2 separate regions of the Homo sapiens genome follow, and region 1 is linked to region 2. The links are contacts of gene promoters, found by promoter capture Hi-C in blood cells and fetal thymus (Javierre and others, 2016). All regions are on one chromosome and are shown on one strand. Each heading gives the region's core, a stretch centred on a gene start or on the middle of the fragment in contact. The rest is flanking DNA. Distances are from core to core; before and after follow the strand shown.

What was found. The method cuts DNA at HindIII sites, captures the fragments that hold promoters and counts their contacts. A CHiCAGO score of 5 or more calls a contact.
Region 1: a contact is called between a fragment that was not itself captured here and the fragment with the promoter of MAP10 in region 2, in 1 of 17 cell types (fetal thymus). The highest score is 5.7, in fetal thymus.

Annotation. Positions count from the first base shown.
Region 1 is chr1:232,963,241-232,970,287 of GRCh38, forward strand. NTPCR (nucleoside-triphosphatase, cancer-related) reads left to right here. Exons shown (of 5, transcript NM_032324.3): 4 at 6,669-6,878. Among named protein-coding and RNA genes, the nearest start is that of NTPCR, 16 kb to the left of the region's middle. The HindIII fragment of the contact is 166 bases long and covers 1,444-1,609 here.
Region 2 is chr1:232,802,163-232,809,951 of GRCh38, forward strand. MAP10 (microtubule associated protein 10) reads left to right here and starts at 3,254. Exons shown (of 1, transcript NM_019090.3): 1 at 3,254-7,767. The coding sequence starts at 3,288. The coding sequence ends at 6,005. RefSeq lists enhancers at 3,049-3,646, 3,358-3,437, 3,647-4,243. The HindIII fragment of the contact is 4,755 bases long and covers 1,691-6,445 here.

The sequences.
Region 1 (7,047 bases), core at 277-2,776, 160 kb after region 2:
TGAAAATTCAGCATGAGGTTGACTCTGCAGTTCATTTTGCAAGATTTGTCATGGCAAATCTTCATAATTTCTATTGAGCAGAGACTGAGACTTTATTATTTCTGATTGTTGGCGAGATTCTGTGGATTTAGATGCTAAGCAGGCTTTTGCCCTGGGTTATGACACCTTCATGTCTTTCTTCTTGCAGTCCACTCTCAAGAAACACAGAAAAGTTGCATGCTCCTTAAGTCACACGTCCCTTAAGCTGGACTGGGGTTGAGTTTGTATAAACTGTTGCCGTTTTTCTTTTTCCCTCTCACTTTGTCCCATTTCCAGCATTTCCTTCTGTCTCGCCTCCCGTGCGTATCAGTCTAAAACCACACTCCATTAGGAGGAAGTTCATACGGGGTGAGTTGGTTGTTTTCTTGAGTCTGGTACTGAGAAAGTACATACGTGTGTGTTTTCTTTTTTTGACAATTTTTTTAACTTCATTTGGATAAAATTTTACTCTTAGAGAAAGTTATAAGTGTAAGAATAGTGCAAGAACACCTGTATACTCTCATTATCCAGAGTCACCTATGTTTATCATTTGCCTTGTTTGCTTATTCTCTCTCTCTGTGTGTGTGTGTGTGTGTGTGTGTGTGTGTGTTTGTGTGTGTGTATAAATATATAAGCTGGAAGGGGGTGACTATTTGAGAATACGTTGCAATCATCAAGGTACTTTACTCCTAAATGTTCAGTATATTTTTCCTAAAAATAAGGATATGCTTTTACATAATCAATACAGTTATCAACCTCTGTAAATCTTACATTGAAAAAATACTTTAATCTATCGTTAGTGTTCTAGTTTCATCAGTTGACAATATTCTTTGTAACATTTCTTTTCCTCCAGATGTTACACTTAGTTGTCACATCTCCATAGCCTCCGTTAATTTGGAACATTTCCACAGTCATTCTTTGTCTTCCAGGACATTGACATTTGTAAAGAATATAGTTCCAATTTAAAAGAACGTTCATCTTTTGGAGTTTTTCTGATGTTTCCTCATGACCAAATAAAGCTGGAATACTCCATAAGTCATAAGTGATGATGCATCCTTCTCGAGTATCTCATCTGGAGGTGTGTGATGTTTAGTGATATTAATTTTGATTACCTGATCAAGGACTTGTCCTATTTCTCCACTGTATAGTTACTATTTTTTTCTTTGACACTAATGAGCAGTGAGTGGGGAGATAGTGTGAGACCATGCACATCCTCCTCATCAGATTTCCCCTAGCCAATTCTAATTTTATCTAAACTTTATTAGATCATCTTAAGATAAAAATAATTTTCTCTTGAGGCCTTAATTGGCAAGCAGATTTAACTACTCTCTTTTGAAATTGTTTCTCTAGCAAGGTGAGCAGTAATTAACAAACATAAAATTACTATACATTGAAGCTGCACTAAAAAAAATGCCATAATGGTTAAGCTTTTTTCCACTCTAAGCTGTGCTTCTCTCTATTTGTATCCGGTTACCTCCCCATTAGAAAAGCCATCACCATTTTATTATAGGAAAAACAATCAGTTCTTTCTCCTCAGGCAGTTTCTAATGAAAACGGTATCAGGTATCAGAGATACTAAACATTTACCAAAAGCTTAAATATTGATGAAAATTTTTACTAAGCAAGTGAAATTTTTTTTAATTTGGTTTTTGTAAACACTGGCAGGAAGGTGGACATATCAGGATACCTGGTCATAACTCTTCCACCGTCTTCTCGGGGTGTGCTCCTGGTAGAGGAGAGAAGTCCTTTTACTTTATCATATCTGCCTACTGCAGTGGGCCATTCGCTATCCATACTTGATGAAATAATTTTGGTGATATTATTCTCAGACCCAAAATATGAGTTATTTTCGAGTAATTTAGAGCAATATGATTACTCCAAATAAATTGAGGTTTTGTGCCTATGCCTCCATAGATCCCTAAACACCAGAGTGCTATTCGTTCTTATTGGAGAGGAAAGCAGTTTCTTCGTGGTTAGGTCAGTTTCCTAGATGCTATTCTTTATTTCAGAATCAAAGTGTGGAGGCGTATTGCACACAGGGTGTGGAAGAGAGCTTTGAAGTCAGGTGATCTCTGGTTTGACTCCAGCTCTGTCACTGTGCTCTCAGTGAGTTTTGAGTAAATCCCTTAATGCCTAATTTCCTTTCCTCATCTGTGAAACAGATGCTGTTACCTGCTATGTGAAGTTGCTGGGAGGACTGAATGTAATGCTTGTAAAGTGCCTTGGCCCCTGGCTCCTAGGAGGTGCTCAGCAGAGCAATAGCAGTGATTATTTTCTTGAGAAGTTAATTGAGGTGGTGGATGGCAGTACCTTGAGAGGAGCCTCCCTTCACAATTTGGTTTGTGTTTGCCAGGGAGCTGGGGTCCGGAGTGGGATAGTAATCTGTCATGGAGTCCCAGGAGCCCAAATGTGCAGGCCAGTCCCAAGTGCTCAGAGCATGAGGAGGACGAGGAGTACTGGGCTCTCCGTCTCACTGGACTGACTGTCAGCCAGGAGGTGTTGTTTCAGTCCCAAGATAGCTTGGAAAACCCCATGGCTACCATTCAAGCGCTCTTCAGTCGGGTGACCATGTGGGTGAGCCCCTGTGAGTCCCGAGAGGCCATTTAGGACATCCAGGAAGAGCCTCAGAGCTAGTCTGTCTGTGTGCCGGGGTGAGGATCTCTGGCATGTCCGGGGGAGCAGCTTCTGCCCGGAGTATTCTTGACTGGGGAAGGGCCGGGTTACCAGGCGCCATCGGGCAGTCTAGACACCTTGTCCTGGCTATGCCCTGGAGACTCACAGTCCATATGCCACCAGACAGCAAAGGGATTATGAGACTTGAAGGCTTGGAATAAACACACATAAAATATGACCGGAGCCCTGCATTTTTAGCTAATAACTTCAGTGGGTGAGGAATTGTGGGCTGGCTCAGAGATGGCTGCTGTTAGCACCATTTGCCTTTCTGCTTCCCTAGAACTTGCTGCTGTTTGGCGAAGGGCTGCAGTTTTGCTGCCTAACTTCTGAGAGACACTCCTTATTCACTTTCATGACTTTCCATACTTGCTGTCCCAGGTGGGTAAGCTCAGGAGCTAGTCTGTGTGTCTGATATTAAAATAAAACAATCCAAACAGTCCTCCTAAAATTAACATTAATACCACTGGAAACATTTATTATGCAAATAATTCAGAATAAGGCAAAGACCACTTGGATTAGCTTGCTCTCAGTTTGATATTTTGGTTAAATGAAATTATTTTATATTTATATGTTCTTTGTATTTTTAAAAGTACATATAAAAATAAAGGACCCAAAAAAATCACACTATTTTCAGGTCTCTGATATAACTGGTACGAAGATATTTGTTGTTCTAATCTTTCTGGAAAGCAAACTAGGTGAGTGTAACCAAAGTTATAAAATTATTCGTAGCTTCTCTTATCCCTGGCTGGTCAATTTTAGGACTCTATCTAAGGAAATATCTTCTCTCCCGGAACAGGGAAACTAAAAGTGCGCTTCATGGCTGAACATTTATAATCAGCTGAAGTGGAAGCCTGTGAGGGGTGTGGCCAGGAAGGCTAGTGTGTTACATAGGACTGAGGTGTGGCACTAGGAAGCAATGCTGCCTGGGTTGTTCTCTGAGGAGAGGCTGTGAGGGGAGGAAAGGGTGCTCCCCAGTTGGTGTGTACACCCCAGATGGTGTGTACATCGTGATTCTGACCACGTGGCTGAGAGCCACCTACAGTTTTTACACACTCCTTACTCCAGCAGCTGTAGGTGGAGTTTCTCTGGGAGCTCATTAGGACTCTCCTCACACTGGGGGTTGGGGAGGGGTTCCTGACCATCTTCAAACCTGGGCCCCTATTGTTCTAAGTCTGTGTCTCTATCAATTTAGAACAATGTAAAGGGGGTGAATGTTTGTTTACTTACTTATTTCTTTGTTTCCCTCTAAAGTTGCTTGAATTTATATAGAAATAAAACCATGTTACACGTTATAGTGGTTCTTTTTTTAAGACCTTGAGTGTATGATCTTGTACTATTTAGAAAAGCAGGCTGAGTGTCTACATGCTTCAGAGTGGCTCAGCAGCTGACATCTTTCTCTCAACTGAATATGAATAACTTGCATTTTTAATTAAAAATCACAGATTTATTTTTGAGATTCCTGAAGTTCTTGGATTATAAAATTCCCCAATTCTGGACAGATTGAGGATTTTATGTAAGCTAAGGTTTTAAAATGAGGATTTCCAATTGGTAGAAAGTAATGTATACATGTGTGTCCAAATTCTTTTGTGCTGAAACTTAAATAAATGTTGATGAGCTTTCACTGGTGAATGTTCTAGAGGATTGCAGGAAGGCTGGTTGTTGAAGAGCCACACACTTTCTACCTGTACGTGTGTATTTACACATGGCCACGTGCATTTTACTACCCTCATGTATATAGTCAAATAAATACATGTGCATGTGTACACACATTCTTTCATATCACTTCTTGTCTGATTTGGCACCTTCCAAAACTCATTTTGAGGTGCCAGAATAAGTTTTATTTTGGCTTTTAGATGACAGCCTCCAGAGGAATGGCATCCACAATTACTCTTCGTCTCTGGGGGCAGCAAAATGTCCACAGCACTTGGGAACAGTCGGGTCAGTTGGAGTGGCATGCCCCCAGGAAGACAGAAACCTTCTTGTACAGTTGTCTGTTTTTATTATCATAGACAGGTGGTTGATAGCTGTTTTATTTCTCCCAAATATGGCTTTCGTTTTGGAGGAAAAACTTGGAATAAGTAGTGACTTACTTCATAGATGCTCTGCCCTTCTCCCCGACCCCACCAGTGGAGGGTGACATTGCTCCTTCAGCTCCCCACTTCTCAGCTCTGGGACATCGGTGAGTTCCCCAGGAAGGATGCGGACGAGGACAACCATGTACCTGCCCTAAGTGGGGAGACCAGGCGTGTGTACAGATAAACTTAATAGAGAGGCAAAAATGAAGCATGTCAGAAACACAGAAGTGCGGAGATTGTTCAGACCTCTCTTGGGTGATTACAGTGGACTCCTTATTGATCTTTTAGCTAATAAAATGAATGGAAAAATATTTCATAAGTGTACAATATGCAGTAGGAAAATAGAGTACTGTTTACTTAAAAGTCTGAAAAACACTGCTGTACTGCTTCCGTGCAATCACAACTGGGGTTTAGACACCCACTATCTTATCTTGTCTATTCCAAAAGGAGTCTAACATTTGTTTCTGACTCCACAGCCAGCAGTCTTTCTAGCACAACTTGTGATCCTCCCTGGATTAGACTCTTTCGGCTGTGGGAGAAGATTCCCACCTCTGTGTGTGCCTTCGAAGGCCTTTAGGATCTGGGCCCGCAGCCCCGTCTGTCACTGGCTGCCCCTGGTTGCCACTGATCCCTACCACCAGCCACACTGTACCATATGCTGCTTTGGCTTTTGGAATTTGAACAAAATCTAGCTTAACTCAGACATGCCCTCTAGGACTATATTGCTGTCATCATTTAAGGAATCAGAACTGTAGTGAAGAATACTTTGTAAATCAGCTTTACATACAGTTTTCAAAATAATCATGTATACAAACATATATAAGGTGTATTTGTCATTCACCATTCATTGAAGTGTTTATTACATGTTCTGTTTTGTCCCTCCCAGGGAAGAATCAACCAAAGTCCTGTCAGCCTTCCCCAGGAAGGCTTTCTATAGAGGACATGTGTGTTAGTTATATGTTGCTATGGAACAAGTTATCTCAAAATTTAGCAGCTTAAAACAACAAACACATTATTGTACACAGTATCTGAGGATCAGGAATCCAGGTACAGCTTAGCTGGGGTTCTGAGGTTGCAGTCAAGCTGTTGGCTGGGGCTGTGGTCATCTGAGGCTTGCCTGGGAGGGCCCTGCCTCTAAGCTTGCTCATGTGGTTGCTGGCAGGTTCATTTCCTCTTGGCTGTTGGCATGAGGCCTCAGTGCCTCACCACGTGGACCTCACCGTCAGCTGCCTGAGTATCCTCACAGCATAGCACTTCTCTTCCCCCAGAGTGAGTGATTCGAGAGAGGGGATCCAAGACAGAGATCAAGCTTTATATTTATATACAACCAGAAAATAAGTGGCACCCAAATACCTCAGGCTTAAAAAAAGTGAGACAGCAAGCATGGGAGCCTTTGTTGATAATAATGGCCTCTTTTTTCCATTTTGAGCCATATGAGATTCCCTACGTGCTGGGGGGGAGATAACTGCTCTAGGTAGATGTTTGTGTATTTCATGATCTGGTCCATAAGCGTTGTTGGAAAAAAGTGAAAATTAAAAGGAAACAAGTCTTGGCTAAAGGGGAAAAAAAAGTAAGTACAATTGCATCCTTTAGATCTCAGATTCTCTTTCTCATGACTTTATTCCAATTTATGTCCGTTACTTCCTTGAACATCCCACTGGTGACAGGCATAGCTGCCAGCTTCCAAGAGTCCTAATGATTCCCAGCTCCTGGGACTCACCCTTGTGCAGTCCCCTCCCACACAGTACCAGCGGTGGTCTGTGGGATGCTGTCACTTTTTGAAATCCAGTAAAAAGGTTTCTGTCTTTTTTACCTCATTGGTGAGTGATTGGGGAGTGGGACCCATGGGCCCTTTGATTAATGTGACTCTGATGTCCCAGTGAAAGTCTTTGTCATTCTCAGGCCGACTGCAGCAGTGGCCCAGGGCAAAGAGTGTGCGTCATCGATGAGATTGGGAAGATGGAGCTCTTCAGTCAGCTTTTCATTCAAGCTGTTCGTCAGACGCTGTCTACCCCAGGGACTATAATCCTTGGCACAATCCCAGTTCCTAAAGGAAAGCCACTGGCTCTTGTAGAAGAAATCAGAAACAGAAAGGATGTGAAGGTGTTTAATGTGAGTACAGCCAGTCCTCCATAATCAGTGGAAATGGAGCAGATGATCTAAAATAGCAGATGGCTCTAAAATATCTCTTTGGTTTTGAGTTAACATTTTTTCCCTTCCATGCTGAAATGTAGGTGAGTCTAATTTTCTAGAAATGTATAGAACTTAAATTATACCTCTA
Region 2 (7,789 bases), core at 2,004-4,503:
CATGCACTGTTTCAAAGTAATTTACATAAAAGAAGAAAATAGTGTCTCATTACTATACTAATTCAGGTCTTATATGAAGAAATTAGGTTGACATCCAACTTTTGATGTATCCTTTCAGCCCAGATCTCTCTTGTAAGTTTCATATCCATATATCTAACTTAGATCTATCTACCTGGATGTATATCATGTATCAAACTCAGCATATCACACACTGAAACTCATACTTTTCACTTGTGTCCTTCCCTACTTCTTTCTCTAATGACAGTAGCTTTTTATAGTTCAATAATCCAGTCTCTTGCCTAGCCTGACCTTGACCTGTGAAAAAAACAGCTAGCTCCTGCATGAAAAATAAAATACAGAGCATAAAACCTTTTACAGATTGAAAATAATGGGCCCACGTTGGATAAATTATTTTTTTGCTAACTACAATAGCAGTGTTTTAAACACTCAGCTAAAAAGTGTGCCATGTGGCAAATAATAAATAAAACAATATTTATTTTAACAAATATTTACTATATGCTAGGCACTGTTCTAAGAGTTTTGTAAGTATTAATTCACTTAACACACATAATATTTTTATGAGGTAGTTAGTGTAACTATATTTTTCAAATGAGGATAATGATTCACAGAGAGTTCAGAAACTAGTATAAGGTCACAGAACCAGGATTTGAGCCAGGTAGTTTGCTTCCAGAACCCAGGCGCTCAGCTACTGCACTGTGCTACTTCTCCATGTGTGGTGTAGAAACATGGGGAAAATATTTGTCATGGCAAAATTTTATTTGTTACTTTTGGCATTATTTACAAGTATAAAATATTATTCATACATTATAATACCAGTCATGTAGAGTAGCTGGGTAGAGAAGTTATTATCATTGCAGAAACTACATATTGCAGAAATAATGTCTTTATAGAAGAGGGACTTCGCTTTTTCTATTCATATGTAAGAGACATACAAGTGCTACTAGTGCACACTATTAACTTTACTCAAAAGGCTAACTACAGGATATCTTCTAAGAGGAATTTTGTCTACTGTATTTCTCTGGCGCACATGGACTCAATACCTCATTGCTTTTCACTTGTGATGATGTCTTTTTTTTATTGCTCTACATCATCTATCCATTGAGGATGTTGCTTGATATGTGTCCTCTGCAAGTATATAGCAAGATTCTCAAAGCCAAGAGAAGTATCTTGTAATTTTTTTTTTTTTTTTTAGATGGAGTCTCGCTTTGTCACCAGGCTGGAGTGCAGTGGTGCGATCTCGGCTCACTCACTGCAACCTCCAACTCCCTGGTTCAAGCGATTCTCCTGCCTCAGCCTCCCAAGTACCTGGGATTACAGGCATGCACCACCACACCCAGCTGATTTTTGTATTTTTAGTAGAGACGGGGTTTCATCATGTTGGCCAGGATGGCCTCGATCTCTTGACCTCGTGTTCTGCCTGCCTCGGCCTCCCAAAGTGCTGGGATTACAGGCGTGAGCCACCGCATCTGGTCCGAGAAGTATCTTGTATTTATATATTGCAATGAGACTTCTCTCTCACGTCTTCACACTAAAGCATCATATCCCTCCAGTTCTGAATTTCTCTTGAGCTTCACAATGTTCTTCTGAGCACTGAAGCAATATAATTTAACTATAATTTATAAAGCTGAATAAAGCGGTACATATATAATGCCCAGCAGCAGGTACCTCAAGCTTTACATATCTCAAAACTCAAAGTATTTTTTTCCGTCAAATCTGTGCCTCCTCAATATTTTCACCTTCAGTAGCAGAAGTTTTTCACCCATGACTTTTCTTTCCCATTCACCAAATTTTAAAATTCCTCCATCACAAATGCCTCTTCTGCCACCTCTTTTTAATTTCCACTAGTCCTGACCATGTGCAGGTCATAATTATCTGCCTCTTAGACCACTGCAGTAGTCTTCTAATAGATTGCTCTGAATCCAATTTCTAATTAGTAGAATCCATCCTTTGTATTCCTCCCCATGATACATTTCCAAATATTGCTATGATGTACTTATTCAATCAAAAAAATTTGGACAGAATATAGTCCAAATTCTTTACCATGGCATTCAAGGCTCTCCAAAAACTGGCCTTGGATTCCTAGCTGGCTAGCTCATTGAGGTTAGGAGTATGTTTCTTAAAATATCTGGATAGAGCAGCAAGTTCTGTGTGTCTCTGTAGATGTGTGTATATTTATGTACACACATTTGTTTTATTGATGGAATCATTAACATTACTCTCATGCATCATGATTGCTTAGCTGGAAATGTTGTCAAATAAAAAACAGGGCCAGACAGTAGTTGAAGTGGCAAAAACACTGTAGTCAGGAACTACTGCAATAAGAGAAAAGAGACCTCAATACAGAGCTGGGCTCAATTCCAATTACAGCATGGACAAGTGGGGATTTAAAGCCAAGGGGGCGTCAGGTCAAGTGGATGGAAACTTACTGATAGGGAACATCACGGGTGGGAGGGTTCTGATTAAGCAGGCCTAATAGGATTCTTGCTGAAGCCAGGCCAGGGTGGTCAGATACCAATGATAGAAAATGAAGAATTTGATCAGGTATCGACGGTAATCAGGTATGAAGGGTTGGGGGTTCTCTCTCAACAGCCGTAGCGAGACCTTTGCTACAACTCGGTGATCCAGGGTCCACAGGATTGGAAGCCAAGGTCAAGGCCTAGTCGGAAAGAAGGCTTAGATGAGCCTGACCAAAGTTCAGCCAAGGAGAGTTTTTGCCAGTGTATTCACACTCCGTGTGTGTGTGGTGTGTCTGTCTCAGTACTACTGTAATTGATGAGGCAGGGGCTCCCTGGCCATCCCAGCAGTGTCACCATCTTTTGGGTAGAACAGCAGACACAGAGATGGCCCACTGTGGACAGTTAACTAACTGGCTCTGTTTAGCATGGGAAAGGAAGGAGAGTCCTGATTTTCTTTCAATATTCCTCAGGTATATTGATCTGACCCCCAAGTTACATAAGATCTGCAGTGATAAAACCATTACCCAAAAAACTCACTGTCTTTTACCACTTATATCCTCAGCATTATCATCAATTGTCTTAATACAAGGTTGGTGGCAAAAAACGGCTCACAAGTATGCATACAAAGGGGCCAAACACATTGAGCAGCAAAACCCCCAAAGCAGACACCGCCCGAGACCCGCTGGAGCGCTTCCGCAAATCTCGCGAGATAGCAGGCAGCGATGCCTTTTGCTCCGGTTTCTCGTGAGACCCCGGGGCTTCAGCTTCTCGTTTGCGGAGCCCGCGGCGGCGTTTCCTGGGGCAACAGCAATGGCGGCCTCGCTGTCCGAGCGGCTCTTCTCGCTGGAGCTGCTGGTGGACTGGGTGCGTTTGGAAGCCCGGCTGCTGCCGTCCCCCGCTGCCGCAGTGGAGCAGGAGGAGGAAGAGGAGGAAAAGGAGCAGGGGGAGGCCTCGTCGCCGCGCGGTCTGTGCCCCGCCGTGGCCTTCCGCCTGCTGGACTTCCCCACGCTGTTGGTTTACCCTCCTGACGGCCCCGGCGCTCCCGCCGCCGAACCGTGGCCCGGTGTCATCCGCTTCGGTCGCGGCAAGTCCTGCCTCTTCCGCCTGCAGCCTGCTACCCTGCACTGCCGGCTCCTGCGGACCCCGCTTGCCACCTTGCTGCTGCAGCTGCCCCCTGGGCGCCCGACGCCCACCCCACAGCTCCTGGGGGCCTGCGACATTTCGCTGGCCACCGCAGCGCACAGGGTCGTGGGGCCGGCCGCCTCCGGATGCTCCCACCGTCACCGGGGACGTTTCCCCCTGCATAATCGAGTGGGCGAGCGGACTGGGGACATTGCACTGGCCTACCGCCTGACTGACCTGGGAAGCCGCCTGCTGAGCCAACTTGAGCGGCCCCTCACCTTCACCCGCACAGGAGGAGGAGCGGAGGTCAGTCCCCAAACCCAGCAGGAAAGACAGCAGCTGCAGCAGCCAGCCTCACAGCCAAGCCCAAAAGAGGCTGATAAGCCGCTGGGGGAGTTAGAAATCCCAGAGGCACAGAAGGATTTGAAGGAAATGGTTAAAAGTAAGGCCGAATGTGATAATGTGGGTTCTGTGGAGAATGGCAAAACCAATTCTGTTGTTACATGTTCAGGTGCTGGCAATGGGAGAAATGTTAGCTCCCTAAATGAGGAAGTCACAGAATTGGACATGGAGACCAATATATTTTGCCCTCCTCCTTTGTATTACACTAACTTGACCCAAGAAAAACCGCCCCCTGCACAGGCTAAAATCACCATTGAGCCTCAAATGAATGCACCTGAGGAAATGGATGATGCTTCTCCTGAAAAAAAGCGTGTAAATCCCCCAGCACACAGGAGTTGTCTAAAGCATCCAAGTTCTGCAGCACACGAACATCCTCCAATGCTTGTAAATCCTCCACATATTCAGAATATAGGAGCAACTAATCAAACATGTCAAACTGAACAAAATCGAATTAATACAATAAGGCAGTTGCCTTTGTTAAATGCTTTGTTAGTTGAGTTGTCCTTGTTATATGACCAACCTGTGACAAGTCCTGCTCATATACATCCTCACCTAGCCTGGTTATATAGGACTGAGGATAAGAAGTCACCCGAATCTTCTGCCAAATCCACATGCCGGTCTGAAGCCAAGAAGGATAAGCGTTCTGTGGGGGGATGTGAAAAGTCAGTGAGTCTTCAGTATAAAAAGAACCAAATTGAAAACTATAAGGAAGATAAATATTCTGAAAAGAGCAGTGGTGCCCTCCATAAAAGAGTTCCAAAAGGGAGGCTACTTTATGGCTTAACAAATACACTAAGACTACGTTTAAAGCTGACAAATCCTGATATGTTGGTGGTACATGAAAAAAGAGAACTATATAGAAAAAGACAATCACAAATGTTGGGTACAAAATTCAGAATTCCGTCATCCAAAGTTAAACTATTAAGCTCTGCAGAACAAAGTCAGAAGCCACAACTGCCTGAAGATAAGTATTTAGATTCAGATGCATCTTTCACTGAAAATAGTGATACCTCAAGACAAATCAGTGGAGTTTTTGATGAGCCCAGCACAAGTAAAGAAACTAAACTGAAATATGCAACTGAAAAAAAGACAGTTGATTGTAGTAAAAATAGAATCAATAATGTTTCATTGGAAGAAGTTGTGAGTCCTGCAAATTCCATTATTCCAGAAAGGCTTACCCCTACAAATATTCTGGGAGGAAATGTGGAAATGAAAATCCAAAGTCCATGTGTTTTCCAACAGGATGCTGTTGTTGACAGAATTGTAGATAAGGAAATAGATATTAGACAGGTCAAAACCACAGATAATGACATTCTTATGGCTGATATAAGTGACAAGAGAACAGGTAAAAATAGTTGCTATGAAAACATCTCAGAACTGAAGTATTCAGATGATTTGTCTAGCCCTTGCTATTCTGAAGATTTCTGTACCAGTGAGGACACCAGCAGAAGTTTCAAAGCTCATGATAGCAGTTCAAGGACAGAAAATCCAAAACATAGTCAATATACAAGCAAGTCTAGTGACACAGGAGTGTCCAAAAAGAAAAATAGTAGTGACAGGAGTTCTATCCTTAGCCCACCTTTTTCAGCCGGGTCACCTGTACACTCATACAGAAAATTTCATATTTCAAAGACTCAGGATAAAAGTTTGGAGGAAGCATCTAGTATCTCTGCTAGTGATTTATCTTCAACACATTGGACTGAACAAAAAGAAAACCAGATAGATCAAAATAGTATGCACAATTCTGAAATTACAAAGAGAGCTCAAGACATCTCTGTTAAAACAAGAAGTAGTTGGAAATCTTTAGAAAAAAGCCAGTCACCACAAACATCCCAGGTGAGTTCTTACCTGCCTTCAAATGTGTCCGAACTTAATGTCCTGGATAGCAGTACATCAGATCACTTTGAAGAAGGCAATGATGATGTTGGTTCACTAAATATTTCCAAGCAATGCAAAGATATTTGTGAATTAGTAATAAATAAACTTCCAGGATACACAATGTAAAAATACATGCTTTTAAAAAACTTTCAAGGACCTATGTGTACTGTTAGTGAAAAAAATTTTAAAGCTGTTTTAGTTCATGAATTATGTGAATAATTTTTTAAAGAAATATGAATTAACGTTATTCCTTTGATGTTTAAATGGTATTTTACCATTAAATCTGATAATATTGATTATTAAATCATATAAACAGATTTCTTTTTAAATTGTTTAATCATAAGAATAAAAGTGTGTCTTTCTAAATTGTCTCTCTTAAAGTGTCTAGTCTACAGTATTGATCATTCTAAAGCTGACTTCATGCACACCACTGAAAAAGAAGGCTAGTTAGTAAGGACAGCCTCAAATTTTAATTGGAACAAATTATTTAACAAATATAGAAGACTTACTGTGTTAGATGCAGAAAGGTGCAGAATCTATTTATGATAGAGCCCTGCTGTTTTAAAAGCTTACAGTTGTATGTAGATAAGAAGTCTTCCTTGACATATACATATCCCATATCCCCAATAGGTGAAGTTGCTTTTATATGCTCTCATAGTGCCCTGCACCTTTTGTTTATAAGCCACAATTTGTGTGATTACTTGATTAAAGTTTATCTTCCACTAGGCTTCAGTTGTGTGATGGGATCATATTTGTTTTACACATCAGTGCATTTTTGTATCTAGCACAATTCCTGGCATGTGGCTGCAGTGCAATAAAAACATTTGTTGAAAAAAACGAAGCCCAGGCATTTAAAATACCTAATGGGAGGGTTTAGAATTAAGCAGCAAAAATAAGCAGATTCCCTAAAATAAACCTGCAGAAAATCCTTATTGGAAATATATTTGACTGTAATATTTCTGTTTTGCTTGGTATAAATAGCCTTCAGGTGTTCTCTGAAATATTTGGAAAGGGAAACTTAAGAAGGTATCTTTTATACAGTTTCTGATATAGGAGTTCAGTTTCTTGTCATTTCAGTTTGTTCAATGGTTATTTTTAGTGTATGGAACTTTGTTTTTATGAAATCCAGTGATAATTTATAATTTATTCCATTGGTTTTATATTTAGACTTTATTCTGTGTTCAAATATTTACATATATTTTCTTCTAGCTGTGTTATACTTTAATTTTTAGACTTTTTAATATATCTAACGTTTTTGAATGTATGAAGTGAGGTTCTAATTTCCTTTCTTTAAAGGTAATTAATTATATAGGTATTCTGAATGATCATAATACTAGAATATAGATAGATGGTAAAAAGAGAGAAGAGGATGTTACATTTTGGGGAGCAATATGAATAAAAGAGTGATGGGAATGAGCCTGATATATTTATGGGACAATTTAAAATATTATCTTGAATAGAATGATCCACTCATGCTACAGAGTGGTAGAAAGGACATTTGTTGAGTAAGGAAAATGCCAGATTACAGAGAGCCTCAAATGCTAAGTATAATAATAGAATTCTAAGCAATAGGAATAACAGATTATTTTAGGTTATAAATGAGCACTAGTAAGTAGTCATGACATTTTGAATATTTTAAATTATTGAAAATAATAAGCAGAGAAATTATATCAGTTAAAGTTTTGAGATATGAAAGGTTTCTGTGGCTAGTGGCTATGATCTTAATTTTTCTAAAATATAAAGCATATAGTATAACATTTCACAAAATCAAAATATTGTAATGCCAGGTATTGTAACTAGATGTTTAATGATGTGAACTGTGTAAATTGTTTAATAGCAATTTGTCATTACTATGGAAGAGACAATAAAAATATAAGCAATATCAGAATCATCAAAGAAATAATTCCTTA